Regions from separate parts of the Homo sapiens genome. Here all the other regions are linked to region 1. The links are contacts of gene promoters, found by promoter capture Hi-C in blood cells and fetal thymus (Javierre and others, 2016). All regions are on one chromosome and are shown on one strand. Each heading gives the region's core, a stretch centred on a gene start or on the middle of the fragment in contact. The rest is flanking DNA. Distances are from core to core; before and after follow the strand shown.

Region 1 (4,621 bases), core at 1,203-3,702:
AACTATAAACTAGAGTGGCATGGGGTCAGTATCAGTGAATTTCTTCATGGAATATCAGTCAACAAATATACTTTAGATGCCTGCCATATGTGAGGCATGGAACTGGGGATACAGTGATTGACAGACAGATGTTGTTCCTGCCCTCCTTGGTCTACTGCAACTTTAGGCTCTGGCTTATGCGCTCCCTTGGCCGTTGGTTGGAAGGTCTTAGTAACTAATTTTGAATTAGCAGCTTTAGAATGCTGACTGGTCAATAAGCTGAAGAGCTTGGATAGCAGGGTAGCACCACTGAGAAAACCAGAGTTTTGGAGTCAGGTCAGACCTGAATTTGAGCCCAGTTCTGCAAGTTGTTGGAATTGAAATTTGGCAAATTATCTGATGCTCAGTTTTCTTATTGGTAAAATTATATTTTTTCATAAAATTATAATAAGAATTAAGTGGAATTCAACTAGTTGAGATAATATATATAACATGTTACTACAATGGATGGTATATTACACATACTTGATATTTCCTTTTCTGAGAGAAACAGTAAAACTAAACATAGGGACTAGAAGAAAGCTATCCTTTCTGAACCTGAGGAGGGCTGGGCATCCAGATGAAAGCTCTGGATGACTCATTTCTTCAACTATTGCTTTTTTCTTCCCTTTCAGGCTTGAACCCAGTGCTGACCCCCTCCCAAGAACTTCTTGTTCTTGCTTCCAGAGGATTGGAACTGTTCCAGGGGTAGCACTTAGAGAGCAGGACATGCCCATAAGCTTGAGGAAGGTACTGCTTACAAGAAATGAGTCACAGCAACTCCATTGCTTCCAACAACAAAGTGGATGAAAAACACTCAAGCCCCACTAAACAATACTCGGAGTTTTGCTGCGACAGACTGGTTAGACTATTTGGACACTACCATGAAGACTATATCCACCATTCTGCCTTCAAAGGAGGAGACTGCAGAGAGAAAAGGGGAAGAGGAACAGGAGGAAAAAGGGGGAGGGGAGGAAGTGGAGGAGGGGAAGAAGGACGTAATAGAGGAAGAGATATAGTTTTATTGTCACATAGAAATGACAGTAGGAATCAATTTTTTCACTGTTGGTCTTTAGGAAATCATCTGACTTTCTCTGAGTTAGAGTATGATCGATTATTAGAAAATGGTAAAATGTGTTAAAAACTCTCTTTGTACGGTTTTGTGAGAAATGTGTAATGCTTAAAGACTAACCAAGAGCCTCTTGGCTAAACCAGGTTGATGTCAACAATAGCTAGTACTTATTTGAGTCACCTTGATTTTCCCTCCTCTTGAGAACTTTCTCTAACCAGTTTAGGCTGCAGTCATGCCTCCTTTCCTTTCTCTGAACTCTCACAATTATTGCCTAGATCTCGTTTGGTAATTAATCATGTGCTACTTACTGCCTGTGTCATCTCTTGTATTGTTTTCTTAAAATATTTACACTTTTTTTTCGGTTGTCACTTATCTTTCCAGCTGTCATTTTCTTCAACTATTTACGTCTCTGTTACTCATCTTTCCAGCCATCCTGGCATCCCATTAAGGTGAAAGCTCTCTGAGGCAGGAACCTTTTCTCAGATTTCTTCGAGTCTTCCACAGCACCCCACATTTGACACACATCTGCTACTTCGCAAATGTGTGCTGCCTTGGCTAAATTTTTAGAAGCTGAACTTTTAGGAAAGCTACTATTTTTGAACTCAGAAAAATACCTACCATCCACTAAACAGCTGTACCGAAGTTTGGGTGACAGGGAACCTAAGTTCACTTGTTGCATCTGGCAGCCTCAAACCATGAACCCTCACTGCAAAGCGAGGATGAACGCGCTGCTGCACCTTGGAGAGCTCTTTCGGACAGGTACGGAGGGGAGGGCGTAGAAGAGGGCTGGCACCAGCAGCGCGGTCCAGTCCTCCGAACGGACTGATGGGACTGATGGGAGAGACCTCTTGCACCTCTCGGGGATGTGCGCCTCGGAGGATGCGAATTAGCTTGCGCACAGGGCGCCTTGGGGATAGCGCTGTCCAAGTACAGGCTTGGGTGATGGCTGGTGGGGTCCGGGTCGACATTTTCCCTTCCCGCTCCCGGACTTCTGCACACACGCGCTGCTCGGCGCAGCCGTCTTTGCCCGGCGCCTTCCTCCGGGACACCCAGCGAGAGGGGTGACCGGGCGGCGGCGGGAGAGGCGCACGCTCCCGGGCGCGGGCGAACTTGCGCACCTGGCACCTGCCACACAGCGAAAGCACCGGCCAGCGAGCGGAGGGGCGCCGCCCCCGCCCCCTCTCCCCGGAGCGGACCGAGACCGAGCACGCTCCCGCGGGCCGGCAGCGCCGCGGAGAGAGTGGGTGGGCAGGCGAGGGAGGGGAAGGGAGAGGAAGGAGGGAGGGAGGGAGAGGGCGAGGCGCGTTCCCGCGACGGGGGCGCGCTCTCGCGCGGGCTGCCGGGATCGCTCGCCGCCGCTGTGGTAATGTCCGCCATGTTGGCCATGGCGCAGGGAGCGGATCGGGCGGGCGAGCGGCGGATCTAGTGTGTGGAGGCGGCCGCGGGCGCGGGGGGCTGTTTTCGGGCGGGGTGGGCGCCCATGCTGTGGCCGGGGGCAGTGAGGAGGAGGAGGAGCGGGCCGGCCGCGCTGCACTGAGGAAGGAGGTGGAGGAGGCGGCGGGAGTCCTCCCCCCCTCCCCGCCCGCCCCGCCGCCGCCGCCCGGGCTGTTCCTGTAAGGCGGGGAGACAATGAGTAAACTCTCCTTCCGAGCGCGGGCGCTGGACGCCGCCAAGCCGCTGCCTATCTACCGCGGCAAGGACATGCCTGATCTCAACGACTGCGTCTCCATCAACCGGGCCGTGCCCCAGATGCCCACCGGGATGGAGAAGGAGGAGGAATCGGTAGGGACTCGAGTGTTTATTACCCCCCCTTCCCTCCTCCCCCCTCCCCTTTGTCAGTCGGGCCTCGCCATTCACAGAGCGCTTTACGCTCGCTGGAGGGCGCCGCTGCCGCTCTAACGCACGGGACTCTACGCCGGCGGAGTAGCGTAAACCCTCTCGGCCGGCGTAGCGCCCGCCCGCGGCCGCCATGTTGTTGCGTCCCAGTGTTGTGATTAGCTCGCAGCGCTGCTTACGCTGCCGTAAGGGGGCCTTGCCGTAAGCGGCGGCCGGGAATGGCGCAGGGGATGCGCTGGCCGCTCTTGGCGTACGGTCTCTGTTTACCTTTCCACCTCCCTCTCTCAGGCGCGGGGCTAATTAATGGCGTGGTATTATTTGGCTAGGCAAGATTATTATTTTTTCCACTTTTAACTTTGGCTTTGTATTGAGTTCTCTTTGAAATGACTGTGGAAGGGTGCTTTCAAAACAAACATCTTCCTCCCAGCAATGTAATCATCCTGGCTCCCCCGCCCGCGAAGGTGCAGCGGGATGAGGCGGTGCAGCACTGCGGCGGGGGAGGGCGGGGGCCACGACTACCGAGCGGGTCGTAGCGTCCGAGGGCCGCCCGCCGGCCAGTTCTGCCGACCCGAGCCGGGCGCGGGGCGGACGGGCTCTGCCTGCTCCGCCTGGACGGCCGTGCTCCGTGCGCAACGTTAGAGAGGAGCCGGGGATGCCCGGAAGCGAGCCGCCGGCGTTGCGTTGTCCTCGAGAATTGTCATTGCGAGGTGGTCCTTAGAAGTTGAGGACCTAGTGCATCTAAATTGGCAGTTGTAATTTTGATAATACAGCACCTTTTGGGAAAATTGCTGCTTTTCCTCCGATGGGTTAAATTTTGCAGACGGTTGGATTTCATCTGGCTTGACAGAGAGTGTTTATGACTCGAGTGGTGTTACTTGCGTGCGAAGTTCATAGTAACTGCACCCTCAAGAATTTCTTCAATGAACCTACAGTCCCGCCTTATTGTCAACCTCGGGTGTGTGTGGATTGGTTCTCTTGCTTCAGTGACTGTCAAAAGGAAGCTCGAGGTTTCAGTGATTGGTTTTCTCTTTTGACTATTAATATTGCAGGAAATGCTTTTATGCCTTCGATTGGCTGGTTGAGTTCTGACCTCATTATGTTACCCTGTTAATACTACTTTGCTCTTATTTAATCACATTTCTCTTTGATGTATAGTTACTTGAAAGTCTTACATTTTCAGTAGAAAATGCATATGGCCGTAGCATCGGGATGAACTTAACTGTGTGTGTACACACACAAATATGTAATAGATATATATACACGCACATACACATATATATTTGTGTGTGCATATATATAAATATGTTTATAATCAAAACCCAGCATTTATCCCTAAGGTTTAGAGCTGTGAGAACTTTTTTTTTTGTATGTGAGAACTTTTTTTTTTAATTTGTTTCTAACGACTCAGTTTTCCATGGGAAGGAAAATTAAAATAAAATCATATTATATACAATAGTTAATTACATTGAACCCTAATAAGCACAACTTTGGATATTTTTGCTATTTTGTGGGTCTTGATCCAAAGAAAGATGGCCTTAAAAGTACCAGTATTGTGTGTAATTACTTTGATCCTATTATTTTAGAACTTGAGTCAAATCTGTTCTAGGCCGGGCACGGTGGGTCACGCCTGTAATCCCAGCACTTTGGAAGGCCGAGGTGGGCGGATCATGAGGTCAGGAGTTCGAGACCAGCCTG
Region 2 (4,621 bases), core at 1,270-3,769, 300 kb after region 1:
TTCCTCAGTATGTTCATTGCATCTCAGGGAAGCAGTGCATATGGGATTTGGGCAGCAGAGGATCCGTGAAAAAAGACAGTTGTCTATCTTATTAAGAGGGATGTGGACAAATGACAGTGAGTTCATATGAACAGAAGCTGAGAGAACTAAGGGTTTATAGCTTGCATGAGGGAAAAAAATCTGGAGGAGGGTGTGTGGACAATGTAATATATCTTACCGTGTTGAAGGTGCTGACACTAAGAAAGAGGGTCAGCTTGTTCTGTTCCATCTCAATACTTAGAATACCCATGATTGTTGGAGCTCTAGGGAGGCAGATTTCGACCCCTGTGAGGAGAACTCTCCAACCCTTATAGCTGCCCCAAGTGCTGCCTGCTACCTAGAGAGGTAGTGAGTTCACTGTTATGTTGTAAAAGAGATTCAGGCATTGGTTTCCTGACTGGTCTAGGCTCTTTAAGTCTCTTCTACCCAAGACTCTCTGATTCTGTGGTCCAGAACTGTAATTCTCAACATTTTCTCTATCTGAGCAATGTATCAGATGATATTCATGTATATAGCAACTTTCATAGGTGAGCCTATTCCTGGATGAAATGTTGGTCAAGCTCCACTTCTTTTTCTCTTGCTTAAAACATGCACACATACCTGAAAGAATGTAAGACAGATATTCTTATAGTAGTAGCATCTCTCATTTACGTTATTCACTCTGTTTCTGAAGCTGTTTTTAATCACAAATTATTTATGGCATACCTGATAATCCATTTTGATGCCTTGGTTTGGAACTGCTAATCTAAAAAAAAATTGCTATTATTCTTATCATTCTGGTAAGGTTTTTCTTTATTATTGCAATAAAATATACTTAATATGAAATTTGCCATCTTAACCATTTTAAAGTGTGCATTTATGTGATGTTAAGTACCTTCACAATGTGTGCAATGTCACCACCTTCCATCTCTAGAACTTTATCTTCTCCAACCAAAACTCTGTACCCAATAAACACCAATTCTTTATTCTCCTCTTGCTCAACCTACTTTATCTCTATGAATTTGACTGCTCTAGGTACCTCATGTAAGTGGAATCATAAAGTGTTTGTCCTTTTGTGACTTATTTCACTTAGCATAATGTCTTCAAGTTTCATCCATGTGGTAGCAAGTGTCCTTCCTTTTTAAGGCTGAACAATATTCCATTGTATGTATATACAACATTTAAAAAATTCGTTTAACCATTAATGGACGCTTGGGTGGCTTCCACATTTTGGCAGTTGTGAATAATGCTGTTATGAACATAGGTGTGCAAACATCTATTTGAGTCCTTGATTTCAATTCTTTTGAGTATATATGCAGAAGTGGAATTTTCGGATCTCATGGTAATTCTACTTTCAATTTCTTGAGGAACCGCTACTATTTGCTATTATTACGATTTTCTATAGCAGCTGTACCATTTTCTATTCCTAACAGCAGTACATCAGAGTTTCCATTTCTCTATATCCTTGCCACTTGTTATTGTTATTATTTTTATAATAGCCATCCAAATGGTGTGAAGTGCTGTTTCATTGTGGTTTTGATTTGCATTTCCCTAATGATTAGTGATGTTCAGCATCTTTTCATGTGCTTATAGGCCATTTGTATATCTTCTTTGAGGAATGTCTATTCAAGGTCTGTATTTATTTTTTAATCAGGTTAATTTGTTGTTGTTGACTTGGAGTTCTCTATGTATTCTGGACATCAATCCCTTATTAGATATATGATTTATAAAATTTTCTTCTATTCCATGGATTGCTTTTTTACACTATTGATAGTGTCTTTTGATATAAAAGTTTTTAATTTTGATGAAGTGTCTATTTTTATTTTGTTGCTTGTGCTTTGGGTGTCATATCCAAGAAATTATTGCCAAGTCCAATGTCATGAAGCTTTTCTCCTGTGTTTTCTTCTAAGAGTTTTATAGTTTTAGTTTTTATATGTAGGTATTTGATCCTTTTGGAGTAAATTTTTGCATGTACTCTAAGGTAAGGGCCCAACATTAATATATTTTTTGCATGTAGCTATCCAGTTTTTCCAACACTATTTGTTGAAAAGACTGTTCTTTCCACATTAAATGGTCTTGACACTCTTGTTGAAAATTATTCAACCATATATGTGAGGATTTATTTCTGGGCCCTTTATTCTCTTCTGTTGATTTATATGTCTGTCTTTATGTCAATACCACACTGTTTTGATTCCTGTAGCTTTGTAGTAACTTTTATTTTTTATTTTTCCATAGGCTATTGGGGTACAGGTGGTATTTGGTTACATGAGTAAGTTCTTTAGTGCTAATTTGTGAGGTTTTGGTGCACCTATCACCCGAACTGTATGCACTGCACCCTATTTGTAGTCTCTTATCCCTCACCCTACTCCCACCCTTCCCCTCAAGTCCCCAAAGTCCATTATATTGTTGAAGTGTGAGACCTTCAACTCTGTTCTTATTTTTCAAGATTGTTTAGGCTATTTGGTATCCCTTGAGATTTCATATAAATTTTAGGATGGATTTTTCTGCTTCTATAAAATATGTCATTGAAATTTTGATAGAGATTGCCATGAATCTGTAGATTGCTTTGGGTAATACTGACAGCTTAATGATATTAAGTCTTTCAATCAATCCCTTTATTTGTGTCTTCTTTCATATCTTTCAGTCATGTTTTGTAGTTTCCAGTGTACAAGTCTTTCTCTTCTTTGGTTAAGTTTATTCCTAAGTAGTTTATTCTTTTTTTGCTATTATAAATAAGGTTGTTTTCTTAATTTTTTGGGTTGTTCATTGTTAGTATATAGAAATGCAACTGATTTTTTACATGTTGATTTTGTATCCTACAGCTTTGCTGAATTAATTATTAGTTCTAACAGTTTTTTAAAAATGAATCTTTAGGGCTTTTTACATATAATCTGGTAAGATGGTTTTGAGAAATGATTGCTGGTGAAGGCTGAATGGGATGGTTGCTGGGGTCTCTGTCTGCTTGGCAGACAAAGACGAGGATTTGCAAGGATTTTTATTTCCAGTACCCCATCTTAATGAAGCATATTTAATTTTTGAAACCTTCTTTGCTGTTAGCATAGGTTGTAGAAGTGTATGTCTTAATCCTTCCTTAGGAAAGTCTTAATCCTTGCTTAAGAAAGCTTATGATATTACTGATAAGGCAAGGCTTATGCACATGACTAAGATAGACTACATCATGTATTAATCATGATGAAGTCTGAGGAATTTAAAGTGAGGCAGGGGAGGAGGTAGTGAATTCTTCAAGGGGAAAGTCATGCTGGAGTAGGAATTTAGAGGATGGGGCTTCAGGTAGAGCTAGAAAATCTGATATCTTAAACTGTTGACTAAGATTTTTAGATTAACTTCTTTGCTCCTTGAAGACATTTAAAATCTTGTATTTCTAGAATGAGCATTGTTTTTCAGAAGAAACAGGGGTCTCAGATAATTTTTAGAATTGACTGGACTTACTTCAATGAAATGGATCTATTAGGCATGACTTGTTATGCTTTTTAAATGAGAGGATTGCTACCTAAACCTACATGTTCTTTGTAGAGCAGTAAACTATTTTCCTTTTCAGACATGAATGAACACAGCTCTAGAAGTCACAGTATCTTCCTGATAAATATTAAACAAGAGAATGTAGAGACTGAAAAAAAACTCAGTGGGAAACTTTATTTGGTTGATTTGGCTGGGAGCGAAAAGGTAATTTGTTCTTTATTTGTATTATCTATAATTTTCCCCTTTTATTTGCTTCATTGTGCAATGGTATAATTTTTATGCTTTTCTATTTTCCTGCTTTAAAGAGCTTTTAAAGTTTCTGAGGCTCTGCCAAGGTGTTATTACATTTAACCCTTTGTCCCTGCTTTCTTTTCTGGTCCTGAGGTCTCCTATTGGTGTCACAGGCAGGTGCTTTGCATGCCAACTCTGATTTATCCCTGATGGGCCCTTATGATGATATGAGGCAACAGTTGGTTTGACTTAGCCTGTGGCAGAGGCAGCTGCACACATGTGGGAGGGATATGAACTTCTGAGAAAAGAGAAAATCCCATGTTGTACCCGACTCTAATAGGCCAGGAACGAGCTTTGCCATTGGAATGTGGCAGTCCTGCCTCTGCAGGTTTGTTTTGCTGATAGAAGGTCTGGAACCTGGGGCGCTCCCTGCATTCCCTGGTTCTCCCAGCAGTAGGCATGGGCTGACGGTGTCCCATGTGGAAGGCCTTGGCTCTCTCATGAAGTGTGGCCTGTAATCAGCCTCAGCGGCAAGCCTTTACTGTTCTCTGGTTTTGTCCGGATTCTCTTTTGTCGTCTACACCCTGACCCATGCCCTCCCAGGCCCTGGCTGGGGCTGTACTCCAGAGCAATAGGCTTCCCAGAATCTCCAGTCTCACTTCCATAGCACCAGTGGAGGCTTCTGCTGCCACACCCTGTCTGGAGGCACTGACCTCCCTCGAGCAACATCATAGAGCAAGGCCATGTGCACAATGCCCTCTGGCCTCCATCATCACTGACATCATGCTGATTGTCCCCATGAAGGCCAGCCTTGAAGCTTGGTCAGTCTCCCTAACTGTATGATTGATCCCCACTTATTGCACTACATCACTGAGTTCCCGTATGCCAAGTT
Region 3 (4,621 bases), core at 1,564-4,063, 280 kb after region 1:
TCTAAGCTGACATAATTAGAAATGGATGCACTCTGTTAAAAAAAAATCCTGTGATTAACAACCTGTAGTAATACTCTTTGAGTCTTTATTCACTAAAGAAGTTTGGGCCTCTTTCAATGTTCGGATTTCTCTACAGTATGAAATGTCAGAAATGGGCAGGTCTTGTGAAGATATGGCCTAACTCTGGATAACTTGAGACCCAATATGTAGTGAGCTATAAAGAAAACCATCTAGCAGAATAAAATCAGGCGCTGACATGATATGACTAACAGACATTTCTAGGGTACCATAAATATGTATGATCATACATACATGCCTTATTCTCCCTTAAAAAGGAATTGATGAAGGTCTGATTGGATTTCACAAATATCCACTGAGGCTAGTGTGAGAAGTGGCCATGTATTTCAGAATCAGTAAGCTAAAACATAGAGGTACAAGAAAGAACTCCTTGGAACAGATGATCAAGTATAGCTGAGGTATCTCTTGCCATGAGTAACCCTATTTAAATCAAGATTGGGAGGCGGTGCTGTGGAGCCCTTTTTTTCTAGAGGCTAATAATTAAATCAGATGATTTCCGAAGAGCACCATAGTCCCCGTGATTCCTGATAATGGGTGGACCAAGGAGCATTCCTTTCAAGTCCATCTAAACTCTTAATGATTTGGAGCATCTGGGAGGCTCCATTTAACTCGATGGCTTTATTCTCTCTCTGGTTTTTCATTCCCTACCACTTCACTGGGTTAAAAAAAATATATTTTAAATGTTTGTTTGTGGAGTCCTGGCATCTCTCATGCTCCCATCTTTGTCTGGTGTTTGTTTTTCAAAATTTTGCTTGAAAAAGCATGTAGAATTCTCCTCCATTTCTTCTCAAAGAGGTTGTAGGGTTTCTGACTACCAGCACAGTAAATGGGAAGGCTCCTTTGGACGCCTAGGAATTAAACACCATGGTAACTGGATGCTATTATTGAAGTACTGTAACTATGTCCCAGCCTACAGAAGCCACACCAATCATTTGCCTTCCAAATTAACTAGATACAGATGATCCAGATGCTAGAGAAGGGGAAATTTCTTGTTTTCCAGTTCTGATTCCTTTAAAATTCATTCATTCAGTTGTTTCTTTTAATCATTCATTTCTGTAAGTAGTAATAAGTACTTACCGTGGGGTAAGCAGTGCTGGGACTGGAGTCGCCATGCTATGTAAGACTGTCTGCAAGGAGCTTTGAGTACAGGGAAAGAGACAGATGTGTACATAATCATCACACACATAGGCATTATGTACTTTAGAAAGGGTGTATGCAAAATGCCACGGGAACACAGAAGAATGTCACTTGTATTGATTTTGATTGGGAGAGGGAGTGGAGAATTAAAGAAGGTTTCTCTGAAAGGTTGGGTCCTGAGGACTATAGAATATAGGAGGGTTGTACAAGCAGAGGGGATTTCAAAAGTAAAAGCATAAACACACAAATTCTGCTTGGACAACTTGGAGCGGCACAGGGTGCAGAGTGGCATTATGGGAGATGAGGCTGGGACATTTAGGCTGGAGCAATTTGATGGCAATGGATGGACTTTATCCTGCAGACAATGTGGACCCAATGAAGAGTGTTAAGCTTAGGATGACATTATCAGATCTGTTTTGTTATTATCTTATATATGACTCTGAAGAAAAAAAATATTTTTAGCTGTGACTTATCAGGCACTGTCTATATACTTGACATATGTTGTTGCATTTTAAATCATAACAACTTTCTGAAGGGTGAGCATTATTTTCCTCATTGTACAGAAGAGGAATTTGAGGCTCAGAGAAGTGAAGTAACTTGGCCAGGTTGGTTCGGGGGCCATGGACTGGGACTCAAGCCTGGGCTTGTCAGACTGACTGACTGATATTCTTCTGTACTCCCCTGCCCCCCTTTCCTGGTGGGCACACAGCTAGCATTTGATGACAATTATTTTATGAGTGGTCCCTGTTCTGTCAGGCCATATGGACTATTATCTAAGCATTGCAAAAGACAGGGCTAGGAATGGTGTGGGAGGAGGGTAGAGAAGAGGGGACAGGGATGGTGGCTCCTACACCTTGTGATGGCCCTGGTGGCCTGCCAGTGATGAGGTGCGTTTCCATTCTGAAGATGCAGCATGCCCTTGCCTGGGCACAGGGACTGCCCTTTAGGCTGGCCAGCCGGCATGCGGGCTGGCCTCAGGTAGTCAGCAGGACCGCCTCATCATCCTCTGATTATGGCCTACCTGAGTGGTTTGGTGACTGGTGAGGATGGCCTGTCAGCCACCATCACCAGAAACCCTACAGGCCCCCATTTCCCCTGGAGAGTCGGTAGGAAGCCCCATGCCTCCGTAGGACTACTGATGGGTAGGTATGATCACATCCTCCCCCAATTCTAATCTGAAGATGGCACTAACTCTTTTGCTTTAGCAAGACCTGGATTCAGAACTGAGCAAATGGGAGGCAAGGAGCATTTTAAGTATCTACTGCTATCCTTCCTCCTCCCCTGGGAGATGAGAAGGCTCTGGGCACCTGCAGTGGAAGCTCCTTCTGGGGTTCATGCGGCTGCGGGATGGAAGAGTGCTGTGGCCCCGGGGTGCGGCGGGCTATGCTGTACCAGTGGAGGTCACATCACACCAGGCACTAACACAAAGAAACTTTCTGTCTGCGGAGCGTGGCTGGCATGTGGAAACATTGTTTCTGCAGAGACTCTAAAACAAATGCATTCCGTGGGCCCAGGAGCGGGCACTGGACGTGATGAAAGTGCCTTTTGTGGGCGCTTCTGTGGGAGTCGGATGGAGGTTGGCGTGGCCCCCGCAGTGCGGAGCGCGGCCTGGCCTTTCCTGCTACGGCTCCCCCTCTGCCTGTGGTCGCGGTGGCCATAGAAACGCGCTGGGCTCCTGCTCCACTTCCTCTCTCTGCCTTCCCTCACCAGCAAATCAAAACATAGACTGAGCAAACAAACAACAAACAGAAAAGAAGCCCCCAAAACCTGGAGTTTCGAAGAAAATAGAGAACACTGGCTTCAAAGGGCCTTTTCGTTTAAATTACCTTCTAGTGCAGCAGGGAGCCGATAGAGGGCGACGTCGGCTCCCTTCGACCTTGATCGCTGGAGAGAGGTTCTGCAGCAGTGAATGAACTGTAACGTGATTGTAAATACTTTCAGTACTTTCAGGGCCGTGATTGTAAATACTTTCAGGGCCGAGTGGAGTTTGTTCTGGTGGGGTTTTATGTGTTCTCCTTTTCTTACAAAAAAAGAAGGAGAAAAAAAATAGTGTTCAGTGACGAAATGGCAGCAAGAAACAGATTCTCCAAGTACAGTCTTGCACGCTCCTCAGCTCCTTAGTCCAAAACAAGTGAAGCCACGGACGAGCTCTGGTTTTCAGGTGCTTGACCCAGTCCTTACTGGCAGGAGTTTCATGAGCAGCGATGGAGTAAGAGTTAGTGGGATTGTGCCTTCTGTTTAGTGATGGACCCAGAGGCGTGGATGAGACCCGGGAGGCCTCGGGTGTGGCCTAATTCAGGAGGAAGTTGAGCTCTGAGCTGTTTCCTTGGGTGTGGCCGGTTGCTCAGTACCACCTCCCTGGGGCCTCCTGCGTGGGAACATCGGCCCTTGCAGGGTGGCTAGCAGAGGTCAGGATGGCTGGACCCCTGGCCCTGGCAACTTCGGTGCTGTTCTAACACCTAGGCCGGTGGGTTCCAGAGTGTTTCATACACAGAGGCTTAAGACAAGGAAAGCCCTTTCAGGGTGTGTGTGTGTGTGTGTGTGTGTGTATAGGGGGGATGGTTAATTTCTAATAAATGGTAATTTCGAATAAATGGAAACTGTGATATTGTGATGTAGCCAGCATTCCAATAGGCTGGAGTTTTTTGTGTTATGAATATGGCATTTTTAAAGTTTGACCTAAGGGTGGGACCTTTTTCCTTTGGGTCCCTCAAAGCATATCATATTCATGTTAGTGTAGAGGTGCTCTGTCTGCTCTGGCCTAAGGAATCTTTTCTTGGAGTAAGTTGGCATTTTTGTGAAAACTGAAGCTTGAACCTCCAAACCTTACACTGACTACTTCAAGTTTTTGCTTCCCACTGTTAGCAGGGGAGCCATTAGCCGAAATCTGATATGTATGAACATTCTCTCTCCCTCCTCTTGCTCCCCCTCCTCTCTCTCCCTGTCCCTCCTCTCCCACCAACCCCCAATATAGCTTGATACAAACTCTTGAGGGCTGCTAGAATTAAAAAAAAATCCTGCCACTTAATTTTTCTTTTCTTACCTTCCTAAAATAACATATTGCTTTTTTGTTCTTATCCCAGTTCACACTTCAACAACCTCAGATCAGTCAAATGTTTATTAAAATTTTTTTAAAAAACATAACAAATCAGAATTGATATAGAAAAAAAATTCAAAAAAGCAAACCTATCAAAGCAAAACAAAAACAAACCAGCATCATAAAATTCAGAGAACCCCCTCTACCATGCTCCCAAAAGAAAAACTCTATTTAGAGCCTGAAGTAGATGGAGCTGATTGCCTGGCTTGGTTTTTTACATGACCCTGAATAGGACACCTCAGTGTGGGGTCCTTCTCCCTGCCTCTACAGCTTGTGCAAATGAAGACTTCCTCCCCTTATTCGGAATGG

Evidence for each region. Contacts are between HindIII fragments. The CHiCAGO score rates a contact against its expected background, and 5 or more counts as called.
Region 2: a fragment that was not itself captured here is called in contact with the fragment with the promoter of EPC2 in region 1 in 3 of 17 cell types (M2 macrophages, total B cells and megakaryocytes); the score reaches 7.6 in M2 macrophages.
Region 3: a contact is called between a fragment that was not itself captured here and the fragment with the promoter of EPC2 in region 1, in 4 of 17 cell types (naive CD4 T cells, total B cells, M2 macrophages and 1 more). The highest score is 5.7, in naive CD4 T cells.

The regions. Positions count from the first base shown.
Region 1 is chr2:148,642,299-148,646,919 of GRCh38, forward strand. EPC2 (enhancer of polycomb 2) reads left to right here and starts at 2,453. Exons shown (of 14, transcript NM_015630.4): 1 at 2,453-2,872. The coding sequence starts at 2,720. RefSeq lists silencers at 2,107-2,686, 3,447-3,536 and enhancers at 2,526-3,030, 3,627-3,776. The HindIII fragment of the contact is 14,369 bases long and covers 757-4,621 here.
Region 2 is chr2:148,943,322-148,947,942 of GRCh38, forward strand. KIF5C (kinesin family member 5C) reads left to right here. Exons shown (of 26, transcript NM_004522.3): 8 at 3,578-3,702. Among named protein-coding and RNA genes, the nearest start is that of KIF5C-AS1, 51 kb to the left of the region's middle. The HindIII fragment of the contact is 1,237 bases long and covers 1,902-3,138 here.
Region 3 is chr2:148,923,748-148,928,368 of GRCh38, forward strand. The region is part of intron 2 of KIF5C (kinesin family member 5C); the gene reads left to right. It overlaps LOC101928553 (a long non-coding RNA gene), which reads right to left and starts at 3,502. Exons shown (of 2, transcript NR_187659.1): 1 at 3,042-3,502. RefSeq lists an enhancer at 2,252-2,876. The HindIII fragment of the contact is 2,420 bases long and covers 1,604-4,023 here.